Linked DNA regions of Homo sapiens: all the other regions are linked to region 6. Evidence: promoter capture Hi-C in 16 types of primary human blood cells and fetal thymus (Javierre and others, 2016). All regions are on one chromosome and are shown on one strand. Each heading gives the region's core, a stretch centred on a gene start or on the middle of the fragment in contact. The rest is flanking DNA. Distances are from core to core; before and after follow the strand shown.

The links. Contacts are between HindIII fragments. The CHiCAGO score rates a contact against its expected background, and 5 or more counts as called.
Region 1: a fragment that was not itself captured here is called in contact with the fragment with the promoter of RASA2 in region 6 in 2 of 17 cell types (neutrophils and monocytes); the score reaches 10.8 in neutrophils.
Region 2: a contact is called between a fragment that was not itself captured here and the fragment with the promoter of RASA2 in region 6, in 1 of 17 cell types (neutrophils). The highest score is 6.1, in neutrophils.
Region 3: a fragment that was not itself captured here is called in contact with the fragment with the promoter of RASA2 in region 6 in 4 of 17 cell types (activated CD4 T cells, non-activated CD4 T cells, total CD4 T cells and 1 more); the score reaches 6.9 in activated CD4 T cells.
Region 4: a fragment that was not itself captured here is called in contact with the fragment with the promoter of RASA2 in region 6 in 9 of 17 cell types (naive CD8 T cells, total CD8 T cells, naive CD4 T cells and 6 more); the score reaches 7.5 in naive CD8 T cells.
Region 5: a fragment that was not itself captured here is called in contact with the fragment with the promoter of RASA2 in region 6 in 1 of 17 cell types (neutrophils); the score reaches 7.2 in neutrophils.
Region 7: a contact is called between a fragment that was not itself captured here and the fragment with the promoter of RASA2 in region 6, in 1 of 17 cell types (non-activated CD4 T cells). The highest score is 5.5, in non-activated CD4 T cells.

What each region holds. Positions count from the first base shown.
Region 1 is chr3:141,686,997-141,691,200 of GRCh38, forward strand. It overlaps the pseudogene LRRC78P. Among named protein-coding and RNA genes, the nearest start is that of RNF7, 49 kb to the right of the region's middle. The HindIII fragment of the contact is 4,356 bases long and covers 1-4,204 here.
Region 2 is chr3:141,716,605-141,720,704 of GRCh38, forward strand. It overlaps the pseudogene LRRC78P. Among named protein-coding and RNA genes, the nearest start is that of RNF7, 20 kb to the right of the region's middle. The HindIII fragment of the contact is 6,066 bases long and covers 1-4,100 here.
Region 3 is chr3:141,301,701-141,305,727 of GRCh38, forward strand. It overlaps LOC124909441 (a long non-coding RNA gene), which reads left to right and starts at 2,133. Exons shown (of 4, transcript XR_007096119.1): 1 at 2,133-2,228. The HindIII fragment of the contact is 4,192 bases long and covers 1-3,679 here.
Region 4 is chr3:141,317,570-141,321,619 of GRCh38, forward strand. It overlaps LOC124909441 (a long non-coding RNA gene), which reads left to right. Exons shown (of 4, transcript XR_007096119.1): 4 at 1,706-4,050. Among named protein-coding and RNA genes, the nearest start is that of ZBTB38, 49 kb to the right of the region's middle. The HindIII fragment of the contact is 8,550 bases long and covers 1-4,050 here.
Region 5 is chr3:141,644,882-141,648,831 of GRCh38, forward strand. No RefSeq gene overlaps it. Among named protein-coding and RNA genes, the nearest start is that of RNF7, 91 kb to the right of the region's middle. The HindIII fragment of the contact is 6,213 bases long and covers 1-3,950 here.
Region 6 is chr3:141,484,450-141,488,276 of GRCh38, forward strand. RASA2 (RAS p21 protein activator 2) reads left to right here and starts at 2,578. Exons shown (of 24, transcript NM_006506.5): 1 at 2,578-2,767. The coding sequence starts at 2,635. RefSeq lists a silencer at 2,487-3,366. The HindIII fragment of the contact is 5,296 bases long and covers 1,393-3,827 here.
Region 7 is chr3:141,281,901-141,286,012 of GRCh38, forward strand. All of the region lies in intron 4 of PXYLP1 (2-phosphoxylose phosphatase 1), which reads left to right. Among named protein-coding and RNA genes, the nearest start is that of PXYLP1, 52 kb to the left of the region's middle. The HindIII fragment of the contact is 3,358 bases long and covers 400-3,757 here.

The sequences.
Region 1 (4,204 bases), core at 848-3,347, 200 kb after region 6:
TGGCCCAATCTCAGGTCAGAGCGAAATGTGATTGGCCAGGACGCATCCCACGCCCATCCTGGAGGGTAGAGCACTGTGACGGGCAGCCCTGCCAGCACCACTGGATTTGCAGTGGGGAATTGGCAGTCCCCCAAAGAGTAGGCAGATGGGAGGACAAATGCAGGACAGACAAGAACAACAGCTGCTTACTCCCCTGTAAATGGCTTTCCATAGCTGACATTTAACTTCAGCCGACAGCCACATATTAGACAGTAGGGTGAGGAGTAGATGGGAAAGAGAGGCTAAATCTGGCAACCCTATTCCATTCCCATCACGTGTGAACAAGGTTTCTCAGCATTTCAACTATAACAATGAAAAATGGAAATAGAATTGATGCTGAACTCTGCCTCATGCTAGCAGTAATATTCAATGAATACATGAATTCATTATAAAAACAAATAAATAAAACTGCACTATCCATCTCACTGAGCAATGCATTCAAAAAATTTATTTTTCTATGTAATTAGAATCAATTACATACTTCTAAAAATTGATGAAAAACTGGAGAAGAAACTTTTTTTTTTTTTTTGAGACAGGGTTTCACTCCATCACCCAGGCTGGTGTGCAGTGGTGTGATCTTGGCTCACCACAACCTCTGCCTCCCAGGTTCAAGCAGTTCTCCTGCCTCAGCCTCCGGAGTAGCTGAGATTATAGGTGCAGGCCACCATCATACCCAGCTAATTTTTGTATTTTTAGCAGAGACAGGGTTTCTCTACGCTGGCTGAGCTGGTCTCAAACTCCTGGATGGCAGCGATCCACCCATCTCAGCCTCCCAAAGTTGGGATTACAAGTGTGAGCCACCGCGCCCAGCCTGATCCCAAGAAATTTTGAAATTTGAGTATTTGTACATGTAACATTTTTATTACAAAGAAGTATAACAGGATTAGCTATAAAATCTTTTTTTTTTTTTTTTTTTTGAGATGGAGTCTTGCTCTGTCGCCCAGGCTGGAATGCAGTGGCATGATCTCGGCTCACTGCAAGCTCCACCTTCTGGGTTCACACCATTCTCCTGCCTCAGCCTCCCAAGTAGCTGGGACTACAGGCGCCCCCCACCACGCCAGGCTAATTTTTTGTATTTTTAGTAGAGATGGGGTTTCACCGTGTCAGCCAGGATGGTCTCGAGCTCCTGACCTCGTGATCCACCTACCTCGGCCTCCCAAAGTGCTGGGATTTCAGGCATGAGCCACCGCACCTGGCCTATAAAATACTTTTTAATACAAGATTTTACAGAATAAATAGAATGGAAATATATGTAAAACACAAGAAGAAAAGGGAATAATGTAAAAATGTCAATTGCTAAAGAAGAGTTTGCTCATGTTTTCTGTTGTTGCGATATTCTGGTAAGTGATGGCGAGTATCAAATGGTTTGGTTTATATTCCATTTGATACACTTAAGGGAATGATATAGCAGATTTTATTTTTAAATGTCACTATTTGCCATAATCTAAAAATCTCTTTTGAAAATTTAAAAGTGATGATGAACTGGGCCCGGTGGTTCATGCCTGTAATCCCTGCACTTTGGGAGGCTGAGGCAAGCGGATCACCTGAGGCCGGGAGTTCAAGACCAGCCTGATCAACGTGGAGAAACCCCAACTCTACTAAAAGTATAAAATTAGCTGGGTGTGGTGGCTCATGCCTGTAATCCCAGCTACTTGGGAGGCTGAGGCAGGAGAATCACTTGAACCTGGGAGGCAGAGGTTGTGGTGAGCCAAGATCGTGCCATTGCACTCCAGCCTGGGCAACAAGAGCGAAACTCCGTCTCAAAAAAAAAAAAAAAAAAAGTGACGTTGAAAATCTTAGATACTAACCTAAAAATGTGCAAGATGGTCCATAAACTTTTTAATATTCCTCTATGTTGTTATGGGAACAAAAATGTTTGAGACCACTGCTTTTTGAGGACCAAATGTTTGATCTCCTGTTCTGTGAGCTACTCCCAGGCCTCTCGGTAACTCTTCCTTCTGGCCAGAGTCAGCCACAGGGGCTTTCAGTTGATGACAACCAAAGGGGCCCAAATGCCTTAGGACCCAATGACAAGTTTGTTTTCTTAATCATAATTACTTGTTATAGTGTAGAAATACAATTTTATTTGCTGTTTTTTGTTTTGTTTTGGTTGGTTTGAGATGGAGTCTCACTTTGTCACCCAAGCTGGAGTGCAGTTGGGCGATCTCGGCTCACTGCAATCTCCACCTCCTGGGTTCAAGCTATTCTCTGGCCTCAGCTTCCCAAGTAGCTGGGATTATAGGCATAAGCCACCATGCCCGGCTAATTTTTATATTTTTTTAGTAGAGGTGGGCTTTCGCCATGTTGGCCAGGCTGATCTCAAACTCCTGACCTCAAATGATCCACCTGTTTTGGCCTCCCAAAGTGCTGGGATCACAGGCTTGAGCTACTGTGCCTGGCCTAAAATACTTTTTAATACAAGATTTTGCAGAATTAGTAGAATTGAAATATAAGTAATATGTCAATTTTTACATTATTCCCTTTTCTTCTTGTGGGCAGGAAAGGGTGCGGGTGGGCAGGGAGGCCTGTTGGGTGGCTGTTGACCTCTAGGAGAGAGCTGTCTACCCAGGTGAGACAAGGGCAATAGCGGGGAAGGCAGCGAGAAGCAGTCAGACTCTGCATTATCCCACTTCCTAACGGATTGGATGTAGGGTACAAGAGAAAGGAAGAGTCCAGAATGACTCCAGAGTGATATGTTCTAATATGTTGCTTTAAACATGCCAAAAAAGAGTTCCTCCCTGCTACATTCTTACTAATTCCAGGGCTTTGGAGTCACTTTTATAGACGGCAGCTTTGAAACATAAAGAAGAAGCAACACGAGGCTGGCAGGATGGTTCTTGGAGCTCTACTTGGTTGCATGTTCACCCTGAGACTTTAAGGAAAGAAACACAAAAACCACAGGACCCAGCTGGGTGCAGTGGCTCACACCAGTAATCCCAGCACTTTAGGAGGCCAAGGCAGGCAGATCACTTGAGGTCAGGAGTTTGAGACCAGCCCGGCCAACATGATGAAACCCCGTCTCTACTAAAAATACAAAAAATTAGCCGAGTGGGGTGGTGCACACCTGTAATTCCAGCTACTCTGGAGGTTAAGGTGGGAGGATCACTTGAACCCAGGAGGCGAGGGTGCAGTGAGCCGAGATGGTGCCATTGCACTCCAGCCTGGGCGACAGGGCAAGACTCCATCTCAAAAAAAAAAAAAAAAAAAAAAACCACAGGACTGAACTGAAGTGAATGTGATCTTGACAAGCGGCCAGATCATTCTCTTTTGTGAGAAATATCTCTGCCTAAAGTGAACATAAAATAAAGGCCATAACCAACATCAAGGTGTGTCAGAAACCCATTCATTTGACTTTGAACAGGCTACTTTTTAAAAAGTCTTTTTTTTTTCAACCAGCCAAACAGAGAGGAAGTTCAACTATGAACCAGATTACAAAATCGTCTGAAGCTGTAACAGTGAAAACTACTTCAGGGAAGAAAAAGAGAAAAAAAGGTATTTTTTCTGTTGTCGTTTCAACTGTTCCTTCCACTTCCCTCATCTTCTAAATCACTTCCTTCTTTCATGAGCTGTGTGTTCCACTACTAAGTAGTTGCACCAAACAGAGAAAAACTCAAGTGGAGAAAAAAGAACACTCAATGTCTTGTGACTTCATGTAAACCAAACACCAAATGGCTTTGCCACGGCCATCAGAGGAATTCATCTTTGACATATTCAACACTCCAAAAAAAAAAAAAGAGTAATGGGGCCTCAGCTGGTTTGGGAATATCTCTGCAATGAACAGCCTGTGGAATCTGATCAATTCAGCTCACAGACTTCCATCCTATGATTTTTACTTAGAATCAGCAACTGTGTAATCTAGAAGGAATTTGAAGAAATCAACAACTCCGTAACCTCTGAACTGGGTTAGACTATATGAGAAGCTATCTAAGTATTAAAGATGGGCAGCTAAGCATTAGGGACCCAGATTCTATCCCTGACACTTCCACTAATGTCTGGCTCTCAGAATCCTCTTCTGCAAAATGAGAACTTTTCACTCACAGGATCCTAAATTCCACCCCAGCTTTACCATTTTGAAATTCTAAAGAGACAACGCAAGATTATCACTGCGTGGTCATGAACACAGTCTTTGGGAAGCTCCTTGTGGAGGCTAATCTAAATTTGTGTT
Region 2 (4,100 bases), core at 1,261-3,760, 230 kb after region 6:
TTGTTTTATTTCTTTTATGGCCCAGATCTGATCTATCTTGGTAAATGTTCCATGTGCATGAGAAAAGAATGTGTATTCTGCTGTTACTGGATTGAATGTCCCATAAATGTCAATTAGGTCAAGTTGGTTGGCAGTGTTATTGAAGTCTTCTATATATGTACAAATTTTTACATGTTCTATCAATTATTGAGAGAGGGGAAAATTGTGATTTTGTTTATATCTCCTTGTAGTTTAATCAATTTTTGCCTCATGTATTTTGAAGCTCTGTTTTTAGGTACATAAACATTTTTGATTGTTGTGCCTCTTGATGAATTGACACTCGTCATTATGAAATGCTCTTCTTTATCCTTGGTAATGCTCCCTACTTTGATTGATATTAATATAGCCACTACAGGTTTTTTTAAATGAATATTTACATAATTTGTCTGTTTTCGTCCTTTGGTTTTAACCTATCTGTGTTTTTATATTGAAATTGGGTTTCTTATAGACAGCATACAGCTGAGAACTTCTTTTTTTATCCATTTGACAATCTTTGTCTTTTAATTGTTTAGACCATTATATTTAATGTGATTATCTTTATGGTTTGTTTGGTTTTTAATCTATCATCTTGCCATTTGTTTTCTATTTGTCTCATCTGTTCCTTGTTCCTTTTAAACTAGTTTTCTGTTGCTTTTTGGATTAAGTAATGTTTATAAGTCCATTTTTATATCTTTTATTGGCTCGTGAGCTATACCTCTTAGTCTTTTTTTTCCTAGTGGATGCTCTAGTGTTTACAGCCTTCACCTTTAACTTATTACAGTCTACCTTCAAATAACTTTATACTACTTCACTTATAGTATAAGAATCTTACAACAGTATACTTCCATTCTCTTCCTATCCTTTGTGTTTTTGTAGTCATATATTTTACCTTTACCAGTGTTATAAATCCAAGGATACATTATTATTATGTCTAGTTTAAGCAGTTGTTTTTTTAATAAGGGGGGAGTTTTTTATGTTTATTCACATATTTACCATTCTGGCATTCTTTAGTCCTTTGGCTATATTCACATTTCTATGTGATATCATATTCTTCTGTCTAAAGGACTTACTTTATACATGCCTTGTAATCCTGGTCTGCTGGTGATGAATTCCCTAAGCCTTTGTATATCTAACAAGTCTATGCTGCCTTCATTTATAAAGTTTTTTTTTTTTGGCCGGGTACAAAATATTTGATTGATAGTTAATACTTTTTTTTTTTGGAGATGGAGTCTCACTCCTGTCGCACAGGCTGGAGTGCAGTAGCGCAATCTCGGCTCACTACAACCTCCACCCCCTGGGTTCAAGTGATTCTCCTTCCTCAGCCTCCCGAGTAGCTGGGATTACAGGCGCCTGCCACCATACCTGGCCAATTTTTGTATTCTTGGTAGAGGCAGGGTTTCACCATGTTGGCCAGGCTGGTCTCAAACTCCTGACCTCAGGTGATCCACCTGTCTTGGCCTCCCAAAGTGCTAGGATTATAGGTGTGAGCCACCACTCCCAGCAGACAGTTAATACTTTTAAGATGTTGCTCCACTATCTTCTGCTCATATTGTTTCTGAAGAGACATCATTTTTATCTCTATTCTTTTGTATATAATTTGTTTTTATTCCTCTGTATGCTTTTTCTTCTTCTTCTTCTTCTTTTTTCAGACAGAGTCTCACTGTCACCCAGGCTGGAGTGCAGTGACGTGATCTTGGCTCACTGTAACCTCTGCCTCCCCGGTTCAAACAATTTTTGTGCCTCAGCCTCCCAAATACCTGGGACTACAGGCGTGCAACCAATATGCCCAGCTAAATTTTTTTTGTATTTTTAGTAGAGACAGAGTTTCGCCATGTTGCCCAAGCTAGTCTCAAGCCCCTGGCCTCAAGTGATCCGCCCATCTTAGCCTCCCAAAGTGCTAGGATTACAGGTGTGAGCCACCATGCCCAGCCTCTGGCTGCTTTTAAGACTTTCTTTTTATCACTGGTTTTCAGCAATTTAAGTATGACATGCTTAGTGTGACTTTCTTCTTGTTTTTTCAGATTGTAGTTTGTTGAACTTCTTAGATCTATGCGTTTGCAGTTTTCATCAAATTTAGAAAATTTTAGACCACTCCTTTTCAAGTATTTTTTTTCTATCACTCCTGTCTTTTATTCTTCTGAAACTCTAATTATATATAGGTTAGGCTACTTGATTTTGTCCCACAGCTAAATGATGTTGTGTTCTTTTTTTTTCGGTCTTTTTGTCCTCTGCATTTCACTTTGGGTAGTTTCTGTTGTTATGTCTTCACATATTGTCTACAATGTCTACTATGCTACAAAGTCCATCCAATGTGTTTTACTTATCTCAGACATTGTACTTTTTAATTTCTGAAAGTTCAATTTAAGTCTTTTTTTTTTTTTTTTTTTTTTGAGACAGAGTATCGCTGTGTCACCCAGGCTATAGTGCAGTGGTGTGATCTCAGCTCACTGCAATCTCCACCACCCAGGTTCAAGCAATTCTCCTGCCTCAGCCTTCCAAATAGCTGGGATTACACGCACTCGCCACCATGCCTGGCTAATTTTTGTATTTTTAGAGACGAGTTTTCACCATGTTAGCCAGGCTGGTCTTGAACTTGAAATATTTTGCACAGATGAATTACAAAGTCACCACCTCTGGCAAATGAATCAGAGGAAATTCCCCTTCCAGGTCCACGCTTTGGAGCCCAGCATTTGGCAAGCAGATCTCTGTTTGATTTCAGCCCCACTTACCCTCTTGGAAGGCACCTTGTGCAGGGCACAAGCACTTAACCATGTGGGTGGCCCTGGTCACAGCTGGCGTGTAGTGAATGCTCCATCAAACCTTAGCTCATGTGAGGCTGCATGGTGTAGTGGTGAGATCCAAAGCCTCTGGAGTCGACCTAGATGTAGAATCATTGAGTTATGAAGTTTGTCCTCCTCACTTCCTGACCTCCTTCTGTGGACCCTCTGTTCCGCCTCACATCCCTGCTGTCCACTCATTTTGTCTGAAGACAGTGCACACAACCAGGCAGTTCAGGAAGCCAAGGCTGGTCAAATCCTGACTAGGCCGACTGTTTCCTCAAGAGCAAGACCTTTGAGAGAGTCTGGCAGGACCATTCAGCTCTGGCCTTGCATTCCAGCTGCTGAATCAGTGGAAAATATATACAATGAGCGAGAAAGTAGACTCATATTCAATGTGGACCCTAACTGAAATTTCATACCTGCAGCCCATGGTAAGGGCTTGAAATTGCTTTATTGATAGTCATATAACTTCTTTCAGAGCAGAGGCCATGTGTCAAACCTCTCTTAATCCCTGCAGTGCTAGGTACATAATATGCATGTAATAAGTATGCACTCAATATACCATCAGCGGCATTGCATTTGCAAAATGCTTTCACAGAAATGACTTCATTCTGTTTTCACTACAACCTTACGAAACAGACAGAACAGCCTTTTTCAGGCCAGTTTTATAGATGAAGGAGGTGAGGGCACATAGCCTGCCGTCATCACATGATCTGACACGTGATTTGACAAGAGGTTGAAGCTGACCAGGAGTCCAGGCCTTTGCCCAGATTTCTTATTCACTCATGATGCCAGAGAGTCCCAAAGACCAGTCAGCAGTCCAGTGCAAGGCCTGCACTTTAAGAAATTTCCCGTGGTGGCACATGCCTGAATTCTAGCTACTTGGGAGGCTGAGGCACAAGAATTGCTTAAATTGGAAGATGGAGGTTGCAGTGAGCCAAGATTATGCCACTTCTCCCCAGCCTGGGTGACACAGCGAGACTCTGTCTCAAAAAACATTTTTTTTCAATAGTCCTCAAAGAAATTACAAACGTAATGACAGTACAGTTTACTTTTCATAAAACTAAAGTTATTTGATTTAAAGAGCTACCCTTTGTTTTCAGACTATGCCCTTACTAATTTGATGTAAAAATGTTTGCTCGTTTACGGTGTGGATAGTTGTTATTTCTTGACATACTAAAAGTTGCCAAACCTTTGTCTGTCGCTCTAAACTTTTGGACATTTGCTGGTATGTAAAATCTAAACCAGGAAGTCCTGCATTACGTTATATCATACCATATCTTTTGAGTAAATAAACGAATT
Region 3 (4,027 bases), core at 334-2,833, 180 kb before region 6:
GCTCTTTATAGCCATTGAGTAATATTTCATGGTATAGATTAGACATATTTTAAAAATCTCATTAAAAATCCATGAAATGGCAACTTAAAGCCAAGGTACTAAAACAGGACTACAAGGCTTTACACAGAACAAAGCGGAGGCTCCTTCATTGTGGTGCAGGTATTTATTGATGTGAGGTTTTTTTGGGGTTTTTTTTGAGACGGAGTTTTGCTCTTGCCCAGGCTGGAGTAGAATGGCACAATCTCAGCTCACTGCACCCTCTGCCTCCCAGTTTCAAGCGTTTCTCCTGCCTCAGCCTCCTGAGTAGCTGGGATTACAGGCATGTGCCACCACCACGCCCGGCTAATTTTGTATTTTTAGTAGAGACGGGGTTTCTCCATGTTGGTCAGCCTGGTCTTGAACTCCCAACCTCAGGTGATCCACCCGCCTCAGCCTTCCATAGTGCTGGGATTACAGGTGTGAGCCACCATGCCCAGCCTGATGTAAGTATTCTTTCTCTAACTTCACTTTAAATGAAATTGAGGATCTTAATCTAATATTGCTATTAAGCCTATTTGAGGGTTTTCATAGCCATAGCAGAATTAGACTTTCTGGAAGATTTAGGTGATTCCTTTTTCCAGAAGTCTTAAAGACTGTCTAGAGAGAGGCAGAGATACATGCTTCTGTTTCTCTGAATCTCAGGGAAGCCTTCTGAACAGATTTAGCAGTCCAGACAAGGGTGGGTGTGCCACCTTGTGTTTAAACACAACCACGAGTAGCAGAAAATAGCTGGGGTTTATGTTGCAGTTGTGGCTTTAAGAGCAGCCAGCACAAAGCTCTGGCCTAAACACCAGTTAACTCCCATTGCCCAAGGCCACTGAACTGAATGTTTGGATTGTCCCCCTGTATTTGTGCCTGCCCAGGAGCCAGCTCAGATGAGTAATAGCTTCTGCTGAAGAGGAAGCGGCTGAATACATCAGAGCATCTGGGCAGGACTTCTTGAAGCCCGACTGCCAGCGGAGACTGGCCTTGATGAGGAGAAGGCATCCCTGAGGGCCAGCTCAGCTCCTGAGAGCTACAGAGCCCCTCAGCAGAGGGATGGCCTGAGGCCTGCCTTCCAGACAACATTGTCAGCAGTAAAGTTGGCCATGTAGTGCCAACTACGTGGTTTCCACAAGTGTTTCTTCATGAATCTTCACAACATTCTGAGGAAAGTCCTAGTTCCCTAATGTGAATGAGGAAAACAGGCGGGGGGAGCCCGGCAGGGGTTGAAGTCACTTTTTCAAAGGAAGAGTCACAGCTGAGTCTAACTCAAGTTCACATGATACCAGTGAACTGAAGAGCACTTATAGCTGGGCATGGTGGCTCATGCCTGTCATCCCAGCACATTAAGCCCAAGAATTTGAGATGAGCCTGGGCAACATAGGGAGACCCTATCTCTACAAAAAATTAAAAGTAAAAAAATTAGCTGGGAGTGGTGGCACATGCCTGTGGTCCCAGGTCCTTGGGAGCCTGAGGTGGGAGGATTGCTTAAGCCCACGGGGGTTGAGGCTGCATTGAGCCGTGATTGTGCCACTGCACTCCACCTGGATGACAGAGTAAGACCCTGTCATTAAAAAAAAAAAAAAAAAAAAAAAAAAAACAACCACTATATGAGATACCATGGGAAAATTTACACCATTTCATTAATCTTCACAATAGTCCTACCAGATAGTATATTTGCTGGCAAATATCGATGAATAATATAATAGGGTTAAAGCAGTTCTACATTTAAATCTAAATGGTTAGGGGAATATTCCAACTCTGCCTCTAACCATCTGTGGCTTGCTATTCTCAAGAAAACTTATAATGTAAAATGTATCTTTGCAGCAGTTACATTACATTCAACCACTAGGGGGCAGCATCAACACAATTTTTCCAGTCTTCCATCTGTAAAGGAAGCAGGGTAGTTTGAGGGTGTTTTAATAGGTTGAGCAGCTGTGCAGGTTTGCCTGGCACTGAGTAGTTTCCCAGGATGTGGGGCTTTCAGTGCTTAAAAAACAGGAAAGTCCCAGGCAAACTGGAACAAGTTGGTTACCCTGGTGTTATATGTTGAAATGGTAGTGAGAATACTACTGTCATTCCCACTTTTACAGAAAAGGGAACCACGAGGAGTAGTTCGTCTGAGGCTCCACACGGCTGCTAGTGTGCAGCAGAGCTGGGATTCCCGCTGTGCCCATATCACACGCAGGACCATGCTCTTAAGCAGGGTATGTGATAATGCCTCCTGAACCATTTAGGACTGCCTTTGGTTCCGTGCTACCGAAACCTGATGACAGTGGCCTAAGCAATAAAGCCTTTCACTTTCGCCAGTGGCGCCATTATGTCATCAGGAACCCAGACTCCTGTTCGCCTCTCACTGGCCAGAGTGGGGCCCCTTGGCTACCTCTGCTGTAAACGAGTCGAGGGAAGTGAGGATCTTTATTGGGCACACTGCTGTCCCAAACAAGCTCAGCCTCCTTTCACTCGAGAAAAAAGGGAAAGTGGGTACTGGGTAGAGAACTCGCAGTGACTACCACACTCTCCAAAGCCACCATTACACTGAAGGTGTGGATGCTGCGCCACCCTGATCCCCCACTTCAGGACTTCTTCCCCCAGTTGCTGGTGGTGCTTGGCTGTCGGTGCTTTCAGGGCACTGCTCTGGAGCAGAGAGCCATCTGCTGAAGGACATGCTCCTTCCCAGGGCAGCCACATCCAATGATTGGTCAGAATAGGGATCGGAAGGCCCAGGGACAACCCTGAGGGGCCATCTCAGCTTCAGAGCGCCTTTGGGGTCAAGCCAAGGCCTTGTGACTACAACATAGCCCAACTTCTGCCTCATCCAGCATCCTTCACAGTGTTGAGAGCACTCCCCAGCAACCCCCTGCACACACGTCTGTCTCAGACTCTGCCTCCTGGGAACTGACCTGAATGGAAAGCAAGCAAATCCTAGAGGCTAAGGTCTCTGCTAGCATGGGCAGGAAAGCTGGACTCATTTCTAGAAAAGGGATAAGTATCTATTGATGACCAATAGATCTTCTATCACTGCCTTTGAGAGGCTTACCATTTTATTGCAGAAGCTAAGTATGCACATAGGAAGCAGTAGGAAAAATTTGATTTCAGACAATCCAAAGCTAATTACAGAGGGCTGTGACTTACCATTTGTTGAACAGATACCATGGGCTGGACACTAGGCTGAACATTCAACTAATGTAGTCTGTGTATCTCACAGTATGAGTGAGCACTTGAAGTAGGCATTTATTATCCCCATTTCACACGTAAGGAAAGGCTCTGAGCTCTGAGGCTCAGAGGTAGACGTGTACATAAGATCACACAGTCAATAGTAAGTGGCCAACTCAGGACTGGAAAGTGAATTATGCTAGACTATAAACTCTTCCAGGTCCCTCTAGCTTGGTACCTCTCCCTGCGCCCCCTACTCTGTTACGTCCACACAAGTGAATAAGTAAACTTGACACTTGGGCTACAGTCAAGAGTCTACTCTGCTCAAGGGGATGATCCCCTTCTTGCATCTCTGTTATGGATATTTATATTTCTAGCTCCTTTTGTTTCTTTTCCCATTTTTTCCTAATGTAGCTTTTCCAAGAAAACGGAATCTTGTTATAATAGATTGTCTTAGCCTGGTCTCCCTTGAAGCAGAGTCTGAGAAAAAAAAAAAAAAAAAAGCTTAAATGTAGTAGTTTGTTAAGTTGGTTAGGGGATGTGGTACCAAAGGAGCAGGAGTGAAAGAGGGGACAGAAGGGGAAGGAGGGAAAGCCAGTGTAAGGATGCACAGGGGCAACTGGGTGCTCTATCCCACAGGACCTCCTAAGAAGGCTTGGGAAATACATCTCAGAACTGTTCACTTGTGGGAAACATTTATCCATTGGCTACCAGCCACAGCTGCCTTCCCTGCTCTGCTGACTTGCATGTGCATGACTGCCCAGCAGGAGGGTGCCTTGTACACCATGGCATCAGAGAAACACTAGGGCAGGAGGCAAGAGAATCAATCTCTCTCTCTCTCTCTCTCCCT
Region 4 (4,050 bases), core at 689-3,188, 170 kb before region 6:
AAGGTAATGAATATGAGGGGAAAATGGAAATATAAAACTAAGAAGTGATGTCATATTTTGAGGTATTTGAGAAGACATGCTGGTAAAATAAACAGACTAATTTGCTAAAAGCCAATTCAATGATTGACCAATTCACCACATTTACTTGCTCCTTTTACTTATTTACAAGGTTTTTGGCAATTCATACTGGATGGTATTCTTTTAACAGTTTTTGAACATTTCTGCAAAATATTTGTTGGCCAGTATTCCTTTATATCTGTATAACAGCATTTTAAGGAATATTCAATCTGTCTCAGCCCAGTTAGTTAGAAGACAGGGTATATGTAGAAGAAAAATATTCACAAGATAAATAAAAAATAAATCAGTAAGAAAAAGGCAACCCAATTGAAAAATGGAAAAAGAATGTTAACAGGCTGTATTAGTCTATTTTCACACTGCTGATAAAGACATACCCAAGACTGGACAATTTACAAAAGAAAAAGGCTTAATGGACTTATAGTTCCACATGGCTGGGGAGGCCTCACAATCATGGCTGAAGACAAGGAGGAGCAAGTCACGTCTTTCATGGATGGCAGCAGGCAAAGAGAGCTTGTGCGGGGAAACTCCTCTTATAATACCATGAGATCTCATGAGACTTATTCACTATCAAAAGAACAGCATGAGAAAGACCTGCCCCCATGATTCTATTACCTCCCACCAGGTCCCTCCCACAACACATGGGAATTCAAGATGAGATTTGGGTGGGGACAAAGAGCCAAACCATATCATTCCACCCCTGGCTCCTCTCAAATCTCATGTCTTTATATTTCAAAACCAATCATCACTTCTGAACAGTCCCCCAAAGTCTTAACCCATTTCAGCATTAACTCAAAAGTCCACAGTCCAAAATCTCATCTGAGACAAGGCAAGTCCCTTCTACCTATGAGCCTGTAAAATCAAAAGCAAGTTAGTTACTTCCTAGATACAGTGGGAGTATAGGCATTGGGTACATACAGCTGTCCCAAATGGGAGAAATTGGCCAAAACAAAGGGGCTGCAGGCCCCATGCAAGTCCGAAATCTAGCAGAGCGGTAAAATCTTAAAGTTCTAAAATGATCTCCTTTGACTCCATGTCTCACATCTGGGTCACGCTGATGCAAGAGGTGGGATCCCATGGTCTTGAACAGCTCCACCCCAGTGGCTTTGCAGGGTATAGCCTCCTTCCTGGCTGCTTTCACAGGCTGGCGTTGAGTATCTGCAGCTTTTCCAGGTGCACAGTGCAAGCTGTTGGTGGATCCACTATTCTGGGGTTTGGAAGATGGTGGTCTTCTTCTTACAGCTCCACTAGGCAGTGCTGCATTAGGGACTCTGTGTGGGGGCTCCTACCCCACACTTCCCTTCTGCACTGCCCTAGCACAGGTACTCCATGAGGGCCCTGCCCCTGCAGCAAACTTCTTCCTGGACATCTAGGTGTTTCCACACATCCTCTGAAATCTAGGCAGAGGTTCCCAAACTCCCAATTCTTGACTTCTGTGCACTCGCAGGCTCAACACCTTGTGGAAACTGCCAAGGCTTGGGGCTTGCACCCTCTGAAGCCACAGCCCAAGCTCTACATTGGCCCCTTTCAGCCACAGCTGGAGTGGCTGGGACACGGGGCGCCAAGTCCCTAGGCTGCACACAGCACAGGGACCCTGGGCCTAGCCCATGAAACTACTTTTTCCTCCTAGGCCTCCAGACCTGTGATGGGAGGGCTGCCATGAAGACCTCTGACATGCCCTGGAGACATTTTCCCCATTGTCTTGCAGATTAACATTTGGCTCTTCATTATGTAAATTTCTGAAGCGGGCTTCAACTTCTCCTCAGAAAATGGGATTTTCTTTTCTAACGCATTGTCAGGCTGCAAATTTTCCAAACTTTTGTGCACTGCTTCCCTTATAAAATTGAATGACTTTAACAATGCCCAAGTCACCTCTTGAATGCTTTGCTGCTTAGAAATTTCTTCCACCAGACACTCTAAATCATCTCTCTCCATTTCAGAGTTCCACAAATCTCTAGGACAGGGGCAAAATGCTGCCAGTCTCTTTGCTAAAACATAAGAGTCACCTTTGCTCCAGTTCCCAACAAGTTCCTCATCTCCATCTGAGACCACCTCAGCCTGGATTTCATTGTCCATATCATTATCAGCATTTTGGTCAAAGCCATTCAACAAGTCTCTAGGAGGTTCCAAACTTTCCCACATTTTCCTATCTTCTTCCAAGCCCTCCAAACTGTTCCAATCTCTGTATGTTACCCAGTTCCAAAGTCACTTCCACATTTTCAGGTATCTTTTCAGCAATGCCCCCACTCTACTGGTACCAATTTAATGTATTAGTTCATTTTCACACTGCTGATAAAGACATAGCTGAGACTGGGCAATTTACAAAAGAAAGAGGTTTAGTGGACTTACAGTCCCACATGGCTGGGGAGGCCTCACAATCATGGCTAAAGGCAAGGAGGAACAAGTCACATCTTACATGAATGGCAGCAGGCAAAGAGAGAGCTTGTGCAGGGAAACTCCCCTTATAATATCATCAGATCTCATGAGACTTTTTTCACTATCATGAGAACAGCATGGAAAGACCTGCCCCCATAATTCTATTACCTCCCACCAGGTCTTTTCCACAGCACATGGGAATTCAAGATGAGATTTGGGTAAGGACACAGCCAAACCATATCACAGGTAATTACATAGTCAGAAACACAATTGGACAACCAACATATGACAGCATTTTCAACATTACTAGTATTCAAAAAAATACTAAATAAAGTAGCAGTAAGATGTTTATTTTCACAAAGCATATTATCAGATAGTTAAAGAGTAATAGGGTTATTGAAGGTATTTCTGAGATCAAGTCTTTTTGTTGAGTTTAATGTTGATGTGCATGTAAATTGGTACAGCATTTGTGGTAGGCAATTTGGCCCCCTTATCAACATTAAAATGCTTGTGATCACTTTGAGGTAGTAGGGAGCTGGGGAAGAGTGGGAGGGGCTAGGGGAGTGGACACAATGGGAGGTACTAAAGGACTGGAATGTAAAGGGGGGGATGTGTGGGGCCAGGAGGGATTTGGAAGAACCAGGATTGATTGGAGGAGGGGGAGAGGAGATAAAAGGCACTTAGAGGGACTGGTGGAAAAAAAACAAGAGAGATTGGAAACAACTGAAGAAACTTAGAGGGACAGGAAGAGAAGGGGTGGGACTGGCAGGGACTACACATGTAAAATGGAAACAACTGGCATTCAGCAAATTGACCTACAGCCACTGGCAAATGGGACCTGTTCACATTGACCAGGGTCCTTCAGGAGAATGAGATTTGTTAGCAAACAGGAAACAGTGATTTTCAGAGTGGTACTAACTGTGCTTTGCAGAGTTCTTTTACTTCCTGTTATCTTGACTCTATTATTACCTTGTATTTTGCTTCTACAAAGCAGCCTGAGCTCTTTGAAGACTCCTTAGTCTAAAGCCTCTGATGGCCAATGGTCTGCATCTTTCCCATGTGCTCCTGAGGTACAAAATGGACATTTCAGCTGCTTTTAATAGAAACTCACTGTGTCACTCATAAAACTCAGGAAGCTGTCCCAAATCCTGGGAGGACATGAAAAGAGGCTCACTCTGTAGTCAAGCACAGGTATGCCTAAGGTGTGCAGGTCCCAAGACTCTCCCACTTCTCTCTTAGTTTGGAGTGGGCATTCTTTTAAGAAGTGGAGGACCCTGTGGTCACTGGCTTCCTTAGTGGTGAATCATAGGGCAATCAGAGAGCAGGAATCTGCAAAGGGGCGCTGTCATGTGCTGAATTGTATCTCCTCAACATTTATAGATTGAAGCCCTAGCCTCCAGTATCTCAGGATGTGACAGTATTTGGAGGTGGGGCTTTTAAAGAGGTGGTTAAGTTAAAATGAAGCCATTAGAGTGGTCCTTAATCCAATATGACTGGTCTCCTTATAAGAAGAAACTTGTACACAGAAGAGATACACAAGGGACATGGAGGCACAGAGAAAAGCCCATGTGAAGAGGCAGCAAAAGAGTGGCCATGTGC
Region 5 (3,950 bases), core at 1,097-3,596, 160 kb after region 6:
ATATTGAGTCACTGAGTATTACAGACTATCATTCTTTAAAAATCACTGCTAATTTGGTAGGCAGAATCTGCTATTTCAAAATTAGTGTTTGCTCAACTGGAGTTGGTGGAGCACAGTGTGATTGGACTTGGCATAAGAGAGCCTCCTGGCGGCCCGCCCAGGCACTGCAGGAAGAGGTGTGGTCAGTATAAGGCTTCCAGAAGCAGTGACAGTGACGGGTAAGGGTCAACAGTGAACTCACATGGGAAGGATCAAGAGCTCTTCCAGGTGAGGCCAGAAATGTGAGGGCAAGGGTGTAAAGCTGGCCTGAGCCGGCAGGAGGTGACCTGGGATCACAGACAAGGGCCGGCCCCAGGGAGGAGTGGCCCTCTGGAAGGCCCCAAAGTCTTGTGTCTTCTCAGCCAGATTGTGTGCCTCTGCACTGTGTTCCACCCAGACATGATCTTAAAGATGCTCCTTAGCCCCTGAGGATCTTTCTTTCTCTCTCCCTTTTTTTTTTTTTTTTTTTTTTTTGAGACAAGGTCTCACTCTGTTATCCAGGCTGGAGTGCACTGGCACAATCTCAGCTCACTGCAACCTTGACCCCCTCCAGGCTCAAGCCATCCTCCTGCCTCAGCCTCTCGAGTAGTTGCGACTGCAGGCGTGCACCACCACACCCAGCTAATTTGTGTATTTTTTTTGTAGAGATGAGGTCTCACTATGTTGCCCAGGCTGGTCTGAAACTCCTGAGCTCAAATGATATGCCCAACTGGGCCTCCCCAAGTGCTGGGAGTATAGGTGTGAGCCACCACACCCGGCCAAGATCTTTCTTGATAAAACCCAAAAAAGAGGATGGACTTGGTGCTCACGCCTGTAATCCCAGCACTTGGGGAAGCTGAGGTGGGCAGATCACCTGAGGTCAGGATTTCGAGACCAGCCTGGCCAACATGGTGAAACCCTATCTCTACTAAAACTACAAAAAATTAGCTGGGCTTGGTGGTAAGTGCCTGTAATCCCAGCTACTCGAGAGGCTGAGTCAGGAGAATTGCTTGAACCCGGGAAGCAGAGTTTGCAGTGAGCCAAGATCATGCCTCTGCACTCCAGCCTGGGCAACAAAAGCAAAACTCCGTCTGAAAAAAAAAAACAAAAAAACAAAAACAAAAACAAAAAAAACCCAAACAGGAAAATTGAGGAGGCCAAGATGACCTAACTACTGTAAACTGTCTGCTCAAATTTTAAACAGAGCCAAAATTAAATATGGGAATTAAGTTTCCTTACATTGAAACTCAGAAGCAACACTTGTGCCTTTTGTATCAGTCAGAGTTCAGTCAGAAAGACAGAAAACACTCCAGTTATTTCAAACAGAGAAAATTTAATTTGGGAATTTCTTTTCTTTTTTTTTTTTTTTTTTTTTTTTTGAGATAGAGTCTTCCTCTGTCACCCAGCCTGGAATGCAGTGGCTCAATCTCAGCTCAGTGCAACCTCCACCTCCTGGGTTCAAGTGATTCTCCTGCCTCAGCCTCCCAAGTAGCTGGGACTACAGGCATGTGCCATCATGCCTGGCTAATTTTTGCATTTTTAATAGAGATGGGGTTTCACCATGTTGGCCAGGCTGGTCTTGAACTCCTGACCTCAGGTGATCCACCCGCCTCTGCTTCCCAAAGTACTGGGATTACAGGCGTGAGCCATCGCGCCTGGCCTAATTTGGGGAATTTTCAACAAAATTGTTAGAAGGGCTAGAAGAGCAAAAGGTTGAAGAAAGAATGCTGGAGAAACAAAACAAAACAAAAAAAGAAACAGTGATAACCAAAGACCAGAAGCTGCTAATATCACCCTGAGTGGGGCTCTGAGACCCTACATCTGCTGCCACAATTTTGGAGCCACCATTGCAATTAGTTCTAAATCCATCAAAGAGATGAAGAGATAAAACCACTGAAAATGTTCTGCTTCTATCTGGGCTTCTAGGGCCTCGGAATGACCCTACTTCTGCTGCCTCAACAGCAACTGCGAGGACCTGCCAACAACTGCCAGGGAATGAAGGCCAGTGTAAGACTCTCCTCCCTTCTCCCTACCCTCTGGTCTCCTGCCTGTCCTTTGATTGGAGGAGCCCACGGATATCCAGTTGGCAAAGGGGCCTGGGAAATGTAGTTTGCAACCTCTCAACCCCAGTAGTTCAGAGTGTACCAGGGCAGGAATGAAGCCAAGAATAAACAGGAAGTAACTTGCACATTATCATATCCAATTCTACAACCTCTATTTTTTGCTCTAAATTGGACTATATAACTTATTTTTATATTTGATTCTGGGTGAATTTCTCATATGAATCTAACTCCCCTCCATGAGAGTTTTTCATAAAAGTTGACCACGAAAAACAATTTGTGTTGGCCATTCTACACAGAACACAGGAGCTTGGCACTGAACGGCGCTGTCTTTTACATATGGCTGCGCTGAGGACCCATGTCAGTCAAAGACAGCATTTGAGAGGTTCTGTTTCAAGGTGTACTTTGATAGCGAACATATCTACCTCAAGGAACCTCATTCTAGGGAATGTTTATTGTTTTTCCTCTGACCTGTTTCCTCTCCACCTCTTATCTGGCAATAGCACCCCACACCTTGCAATAGAAAGACCCAGCCAATTCTTCCTCTTTCAAGAAGTTGGATCTTGAATAGACACAGACACAGATCATGGTGCTGTGGAGTCATCTAATGGCACATAGTATAGTGCAATGGTACATGCCCAGGTCCCCAGGGGTGACCTGTTTTCTGCCTTTCCCAAGGCCTAGTTGTTCAGCTGTCCCTTAGCAGTGTATTAGTCAGGGTTCTCCAGAGAAACAGAACCACTAGGATGGGGGTGGGTGTGTCTTGAGAGAGAGACAGAAACAGAGAGAGAGAGAGAGAGAGAGATTTTGAAGAATTGGCTCGTGCAATCGTAGCAGCTGGCAAGTCTGAAATCTGCAGGGCAGGCCTGCCAGCTGGAGACCCAGGGAAGAGCTGAGGTTGCAGTTCAAGTCCACAGGCAGTCCAGAGGCAGAATTCCTTCTTCCTCGAGGGACTTCTCCGTCTTTTCTCCTAAGGTCTTCAACTGACTAGATTAGCGATCACCCACACCATGGAGAGTGATCTGCTTTACTCAAAATCAATTTATTTAAATGCTAATTACATCTAAAAAATGCCTTCCCAGCAACATCTGGACCAGTGTTTGATCAAAAACTGGGTACCATGGCCTAGCCACGTTGACACTAAAATTACTTATCACAAGGATTCTGCCAATACATCCTCTTTTTTTTTTTTTTGCCCTAGTTAATTGGAAATATTTTCTGTTGCTTGCAACTGCAGAACACGAACTGCTACAGAATGTAATTTGTTTCAACACCAGTCTGTCCAAATTGAACTTTGACCTGACAGGTTGATAATTTGCCTCAGTAAACAGAGATCTGACTGTGAGTAGCGGGGGTTCCCTTTCCTATGGCATCACTTAATTTTTATATGAAAATAAGGCATATGTTAATAATAGCAAAAATACTTTAAAAATAATATATGGCCTACCTCTCACTAGTTCTTGTCTTTACTTGCTATTTTTGGACCTCAGATCCCTGGAAGTTCCTGGGAGATGTTTTCGGGTGTTTCACACAGATCCCCCAGCTAGCCCAGGCAGCTGAAGTGTTGCTCTGCTTTCCTTCTCCTCCCCTGTCATCTGCTGGGCCCAGACACAGCTCTAATTGGTCATCGCTGTTAGCGCCGCTGAGCCACCCTTTCCTCCCGAAGACTGCCACCAGGCCATGTGAGGTCTTGAACTACCCAGGGCCTGCAGGGAGGCTGGGAGCTTGGCTAGGGTACCACACTCCCTTGCTCCCCACTGTCTGCTCTCCCACATCAAACCAACCACAGAGGCATGCTTATTAGTACATGTACACCTCCCCCTTCCACGGATAAGGCTAGCTCCTTTTTCCTTTAGGAAACCTCCCTGGTCT
Region 6 (3,827 bases), core at 1,328-3,827:
AAGTTAGAAGATTTTGACACTAATGGACAAAGATATTGATACTTTGTCCATTGGATACGTTTGTCCATTGGATACATTTGTCCATTTGTACATTGATACTTTATCCATGGATACATTTGTCCAAAGGTTCAAATAATTTCTCTGTTTATTGGAGAAAGAAATAGATGGATGAGGCATCGCTTGGCCAAGCAGGAGGAAGGCCAGAATCAGGCTGGTGAGAAAAGGGGCTCAGTGTGGCTGGAGATCAGAGGAGTCAGGTACGCTGGATCCAGTTCCAACTCTTGGCTGAAGAATTTGAACTTTAGTCATTTCTAGCATTGTTCATTACCTGTAGTGTGCTCTTGCTAGCTGGCTGAAGGGATAAATGAAGCCACTGATGTCCTCTTGAGCAGGCAACTGATAAGCTCCATTTTTTTTGTTAGGAAAGTTAATTTAAGTGGTATGTAGGAGGAATGAGAGGGATGGGGGACTTATTACCAGAGTTCCAGTCAAAAGCATGAGGTCAGTTACTGAGGTAATCCTACTACGTGCTCAGCATTCCACTAGACACTTAACACCCTGCTCCCAATACTTATTTAATCTTAATAACAACCCTTCAAAGAAGAAAGTTTAGCATTTCCACTTTACTGTTAAAGAAACAGGTTCAACCGGGCGCAGTGGCTTACACCCAGCACTTTGGGAGGCTGACGCGGATGGATCACTTGAGCCCAGAAGTTCAAGACCAGCCTGGGCAACATGGCAAAACCCCATCTCTACCAAAAATACAAAAATTAACTGGACATGGTGGCGCGCACCTGTAGTCCCAGCTACTTAGGAGGCTGACATGGGAGGATAGCTTGAGCCCAGGAAGTTGAAGCTGCAGTGAGCTGAGATCGTGCCACTGCACTCCAGCCTAGGCAACAGAGCAAGACTGTCAAAAAAAAAAAGAAAGAAAGAAAGAGAAGAAACAGAAACAGGTTTAGGAAGGTTGAGTAACTTGCCCAAATGTAAAAGGGGTAGAAACAGGCTCTATGTCTGATTCTAAAAAGGGATGCCTTTAAAAATAAGGGGGAAAAAACCCTGTAACACGTTGATACTCTTTAAATGAGAATAATTTTAACAAGGGCAATGACAGAGAATGGAAAGGAAGGAAGAGATTTCAGCAGAGTCAGAAGGATGTGGCAACTGAAAACAGCATTGGGACAAGGGATAAGAAAAAGTCAAAGTTTCTGGCCTGAGTAACAGTATAAGATGTGAACTCAGATTTGGAAAGGGAGACAGGAAATTAAGTTTTGGACTTATGTTTGAAATGACAGCAAAACATTCATATAAGAGGAAGTGGTTCACTTTATCCAACAAGTGTAAAGATCACATGGGGAAATAGAAGTCACCTGCAACACAGGCAGAACTGGAAGCTTCGCTGGCCAGGTCCATGTTAAACTCTGACCATTCTCTGGGGCTGTCCAGCCTTTGCACAGGCGGCGCGTTTGTCTTCAGTTTTCAGGTTTCCCCGTCCTATTTCTTATCTCCCAGTGCCTCTGGCCTTTTCTGTGTCTCCCTCCAGAATGAGCTGGAGCTCTCTTCATCTTGACCTTTGTGTAGTCTCTGAGGTCTGAGGCCATCACTATGTCTGACCCTCAAAAAATATTTGTTGACTGACTGGCTTATTCCTGTTGTTGCCCTGGAAAAGAATTACCCTGCCCGATTAAGTCACAGTTTCTTCCTTCTTAGGGCAGCGTAGTTAACAACCTCAACACCAGGAAATTGTCTTCCTCATCACATACCAGGGTATTATTCATGCAGTTTACTCACTGTAAAGAGTTCCCTTGAAATAAAGCTAACAATTAGTCAAAGATTTACACATTTCCTAGGGTCAGTCAACTTTTTAACAAAGCCAACTTTTAGTAGTGGTGGCGGTGGCGGGGGGGAGCCCTTCTTTGCTTTTTCTGTTCCTGAAATACAAAAGTGATGGTAAATGCTTCAGAATTTCTCTATGAGAGGGTCTCAGGCACTGCACTCACGCTGGAGTTGGGGGTGGCTGGTCCTTTTCTTGAACCAGGTTTTGCAGAGAATTGGTCCTAGTAAAGAGTATTTGTGTGGGAGGAGTTTGGCTTGCTGGCGGGGAGTATTTGGATAATACTGGAAGAGCCTCAAATGCATCTCTTGCCTCCTTTTGAATAAGATACTTTTGAGGTCCACCCACCTGCCAAATTCCATTCTATTTTCTTCCCACAGGGAGTTTCCCTGATTGGGAAGGGCCTGTATTTCCCGCGAGCGTTAGGAGATGTGCAGGTCTATTCATTGGGGGAGCCCAATTCCCGGGAGGATTTAGGGATCACGGGAGGGCCGGGGCGTTCTCCTGGTGGGGATTTTAAGGCCGCTCAGAGCCACGACTGGGAGCTACCCTTAGCCAGCGCCCCAAGCCGGGAGTACGGTTCTCTGCAGGGTAGCCCGGCTCGGGGGTGGCGAAGGCGGTGAATGGAGACCCGGGGGGGGCGGGGGCGGGGCCGCGGCGGGCGGGGCGGGGCGGGGCGAGTCGGGCCGAGGCCCGGGGGCGGGGCCAGGCGCGCGGCTGGCCTGGGCCTAGGCCGCTGCTGGGCTCCGCCTCGCCCGGCTACGCAGGCGGCAGGGCTGCGGCACGGGCCGGGCGGCACCATGGCGGCGGCGGCGCCTGCTGCTGCGGCGGCTTCTTCCGAGGCGCCAGCGGCGAGTGCGACTGCAGAGCCCGAGGCCGGGGACCAGGACAGTCGCGAGGTTCGAGTGTTGCAGAGCCTGCGGGGCAAGATCTGTAAGCGGGGGCTGGGCTGAGGGGACGCCCTGGCGGCGCTGGGCGCGAGGCTGAGGGGGCGGCGGGTTCGCGGCGGTGGCGGCGCCGAGCTGCGCTGGGATCGCGGGCCCGGGAGGGGGCCTGGGCCGGGCGCGGTTGAGGCTGGAAGGGGGTGTGTTGGGGGGCGGCGTCGCCTCGACGGGGCGGCGTGGGCCGGGGCTGCTGCTCTCCGGAGGGAGTGGGAGCTGGAGATGGGCCTGGGGTGGGAGAGCCCGGGCTGCGCCGGCGTGAGGGGCTCGGTCGTGGGGAGCGGCCTGGACGCGGGGACGCTGGAGTCCGGGGCGCGGCCGGGGGCGCGGTCCGGGGGCGTGAGGAGCTTCCGGCCGCCCTCAGACTCAGGCCTTCGCGCGGCTGCGGGCGCTGGGGAGTGGCCCCGCGGTGGGAGCCGAGCAGTAATTATACGGAGGCGCGGCCCGAGGAGGTGGCGGGCTGGGAAGTGGGGCTGGCCCGAGGGGAGGGGGCTGTTCGTTTCCTGGGCTCGGCGAGCCTGGGAGAGGTTGAAAAAGGCGCCCTGAGCTGCAGGAAACGGGCCGCCCTGGGGCCCGAGTGGCTACCGCGCGGTCTGTTCGCGGGTGAGCGCCCCGGGAGGAGCTCGGCGGGACACCTGTACTTGCCCCACCTCGCTGCGGCCGGGACTTGAATCGAGGGACGGCGTGACAGGCGGGACTAAAGGCAGGATGTAGTGGCTTCCTGTGAGCAGGTCTCAAAACACAATCACCCAGCCCGCACTCAGCCCGCTTAATTCCCTTCCTTCTCATGCGTGTAATTGCTACTTTAGTGAGCGAGCCTACCAGTTGACTAAATACGAAATTTTGCTCAGAGTTGTCCGAGCATTACTGTGGACAGATTATTTGAGTTCTGTCATTTGAACATTTTAGTTTTAAAAACGACCCTTTGGTGTCAGGTTGCCATTTTTTTTTTCACAGTGGTTTATTTAGATGAAGTGCTTTTTGTTTTCTGTTTGTAAGAGAGATCAATAACATTTATTTTTGCATTTGTCGAAAATTAGCATTATTTTCTT
Region 7 (4,112 bases), core at 829-3,328, 200 kb before region 6:
ATCTGAGGCTTCGATACCCAGCAAGGGAGTATGTCCAGGCATGAAGGCAGTGAGAGAGCCGGGCAGTGAAAGGGATGAAAAGATGAAGGTCTCTGACAGCCATAGTGTGGAAGATGGATTGGAAGCTGGTGGCAGCTAGTGGTGTTATTATTAGGGTAGTGATCCAGAGGAGAGACTTCACTCAGAATCAGAATCCACATCCTTAAAGTGCCCCACAAGGCCTGAGTGCCCTTCCTCCACCCCTAACCCGCCTGACCTTGCCCTCCACTCTCCTCGTGCTCACTCACTGCGCTTCAGCCACAATGCTCCTAGCTCTTCCTTCCACATTCAGGCACTGTATGCTGCCTCAGGGCCTTTGCACAAACTGGTTTCTGTCTCTAGAAGGCTCTTCCCACAGAAAGCTTTATGGCCAGTCCTCTTACCTCCTTTAAGTCTTTGCTCAAATGTCACCTTCTCAATAAAACCTACTCAGAACACTCCAGTTAAAATGACAAGGTGCTCCTCCTTCCACCCTGGTCTCCCACAGCCCCCTTAGCCTGCTCTTCTCTTTGCCACAGCATCTGTTACTTTCTAACCCAGACAAACACACACACACACACACACACACACACACAGAGTGTTCATTGTGTATTGTCTGCTTCCCCAGGCTAGAATATAACCTCCCTAAGGGCAGAGATTTTTATTTGTTTTTGTTCACTGCTGCTGCATTCCAAGTGCTTAGGACAGTGACTGACATATGAGTGGTGGGGTGTGATTAAATGTTTGTTGAATGAATAAATGATGGCAGCTGAAACTCAGAAGTGGCAGCAGAGATGGAGAGAGTGAGTGGGTCTTAGAGAAGGTTACAAGGTGGGATCAATAGGACTTGGTGGCAGGTTGGACAGGGGTATGAAAGGCAGGCCCGATGGGGCCCAGGTTTCTGACTGGGTGTCTGGCTGGTGGTGGTACCCCTCCCTGGAATTAGAGAACACAGAAGGGAGGTATGGGGGGAAGTTAGTACAGGCATTGGTGCTACATTTGAGCTATCATGAAACATTCAAGAGACAGTTTCTAGTCAGTAATAGGCTGTATAATTTTTTTTTTTTGAGACAGAGTCTCGCTCTGTCACTAGGCTGGAGTGCAATGGCATGAACTTGGCTCGTTGCAACCTCTGCCTCCCAGGTTCAAGCGATTCTCCTGCCTCAGCCTCCCGAGTAGCTGGGACTACAGGCACGCGCCACCATGCCCAGCTAATTTTTGTATTTTTTTTTTTTTTTATTTTTTAGTAGAGATGGGGTTTCACCATGTTGGCCAGGATGGTCTTGATCTCTTGACCTCATGATCAGCCCACCTCAGCCTCCCAAAGTGCTGGGATTACAGGTGTGAGCCACCCTGCCTGGCCTAGTCTGTATAATTTTGCAGCTCAGGGGCACTGGCTTGCTGGGAAAAAGAGGTTTAGTTGAGAATCTTCAGCATGTTGATGGCATTTGAAGCTGTGGGCTTATATTACAGACAGAACCTGAGGAGTGAGGGATGGGCCAAAACCAGAGTCCTGGGAAGCACCAGCATGTGGTACTCAGAGAGAAAAAGGATTTCAAAAGGGGCCAGGGATGTTGCAAATGGGGAAAAGTCAGGAGAGCAATGTTATGAGAGCTAAGGAAAGCAGGGCAATGCATTACATCAAGTAAGACCAAAAGGTCCAGAAAGCTAAAAACAAAGAAAAGTACACTGGGCTTATCTTTTCATAATCTCATGTTATTAATATGTAAGATGATAAATTCTTTAATTGGCATGAACTTTAAAAATCTAATGTGATTCCAGTTTCCAGCTATGTATGCTCTTTTGGATTGTGTTTTCTGGTAACAGTGTCACTGGTCGTCTGCCTCTTCTGCTTGCCTTAACATTCTGTGCAGAACTCAGTCATTGCTGAGATTTTAAATAAACAATAAATGTTCTCATGGGTGTGTGGATTAGCCTTGGGGTTCAGCCTCAAACTTTGTGGCATAAATAGATGTGAATAATGCATATAAAAGTGAAGATAAGGACTCCAAAGTGAATGACTTGAAGGCTTAAGATAGTAACACTTTTGATTATTTCAGTTTTCATTATGAAAGCAGATTTTCAATGAGCCCACAATAATATGAGTTTTTCCTAAAGAAAAATTTATTTTCATGGATATAATTATGTCTGCATTAGTCAGGGTACACCTATTTTGTAAGTTTATTTTGTAGCACAGGGACTCATGAATGCATTACCTTAAATAACAAGGAAGTTTAGCTCTTCCTCATGTGAAGGTCTGAAATGTGTGTTCCAGATTGTGCTAGTCAGCTCCACCTGGTCATTCAGGGCCCCAGGTTTCTTCCAGGTTGTTGTTTCTACCATCCCCTGGGGATGGCTACATGGTTGAACCCTGGTTGCTGCCATGCCTAAATAATGGCTGGAAGGAAGGAAGATAATGTGAACCGGGCATACACATGATCAGAAAGCCTGAACCCAGAAGTGGCATACATCTTTCCGTTCTGTTGGCGAATGCGGCTTTACCTCATTTCAGGACCTCAGAAATAGGATCTAACCAAGTTCTTAAGAAGAGAATAGATTTTAGTGTACGACTAGTACACTAGTCTCATCCACACTAGCCTTTAGTTTTAATACAGTCATCCATAGAGGATTGGTTCCAGGATCCTCCTTGGATACCAGAATCTGAGATGCTCAAGTCCCTTATGTAAAATGGTGTTGTATTTACACAGAACCTGCGCACATTCTCCCATGTACTTTACATCATCTCTAGATTACTTATAACGCCAAACACAATGTAAATGCTGTGTAAATAGTTGTTATTTGTATTATTTTTATTGTTGTATTGTTATTTCTTATTGGGTTTTTTCCAAGTATTTTTGGATCCACAGTTGAATCTTCCAATGCAGAATCTGAAGAGATGGAGGGCCGACTATATTTTCATCAAAATCTGAATATTTTAACAAACCGTATGGGAACTTATCGTATTCATTTCTACAGATTATGGAAGGCTTGCTATTTTCATGAAACATCCAAGGATGGGACACTTCACAGTTGAATTCACTCACATATATTTTTAGAGCATCTGCTATGTGCTAAGCACCCTCTGGGCTCCAGGGATGGAGCAGTGGACCAGGCAGACAAGGCCTGGGTAGTCAGATCCAGGTCCAGGACTCGAGTTACCTGGTCTGCTTTCCACTAAAAAGATACAGCCATTTGTTGTCAAATGTTTTTTTTCTTTTTCTTTTTCTTTTTTTTTTTTTTTTTTTTGAGACAGGGTATCTCTTTGTCACCCAGGCTAGAGTACAGTAGTACAATCACAGCTCACTGCAGCCTCGACCTCCTGGACTCATGTGATCCTCCTGCTTTAGCCTCCTGAGTGGCTGAGACTATAGGCCTGCGCCACCATGCCTGGCTAGTTTTTGTATTTTTTGTAGAGACATGGTCTCACTATGTTGGCCAGTCTCAAACTCCTGGCCCCAAGCAGTCCTCCCACCTCGGCCTCCCAAAATGCTGGGATTACAGGCATGAGCCACCATGCCCGGCCTGTTAGCTATTCTTTAAATGAAGTTTTTCTTCCACAAATCTTCATCTTTGCATGCCAAAAACAAACAACACAACAACAACAACAAAAAAAAACAAAAATAAAAAACATTGGAATGAATGCAGTTAGATATCATTAAGCAGTCAGATGCCCTGAAAACCTGGGTCACCTCAGCAAACACTTCCAGTCATGAAATTCCATTTCTAAAATTGGCAGCAAAGCTTTCTCAGATCCTCAAAAAAAGCTCCAACCTGAAATAATGGCCTGGTGCAGAACATTTGACTCCTGTTGATGGATAGCCTTTGTTTATGTGGATTACTCTTGGCAGCCTCATTGTCAGTCTGGACATTTTATTTCCCAGTTTGCAAACATTTATGTGCTTTAGCCTCAGGCAAAATAACGTACCCTGTTTTTGTGGAAAGGCATAACTCCCTTTAGCTATCCAGGGTGATTTATTAGACTATATTACATGTCTGGATTAGTATTCTCTAATTTAAAAACGTATTTTTAAAAGATGGATTTTTTTTTTAGCTTTATGTTGTTGATAGATAATAAACCCATTTTGGCAGCCATT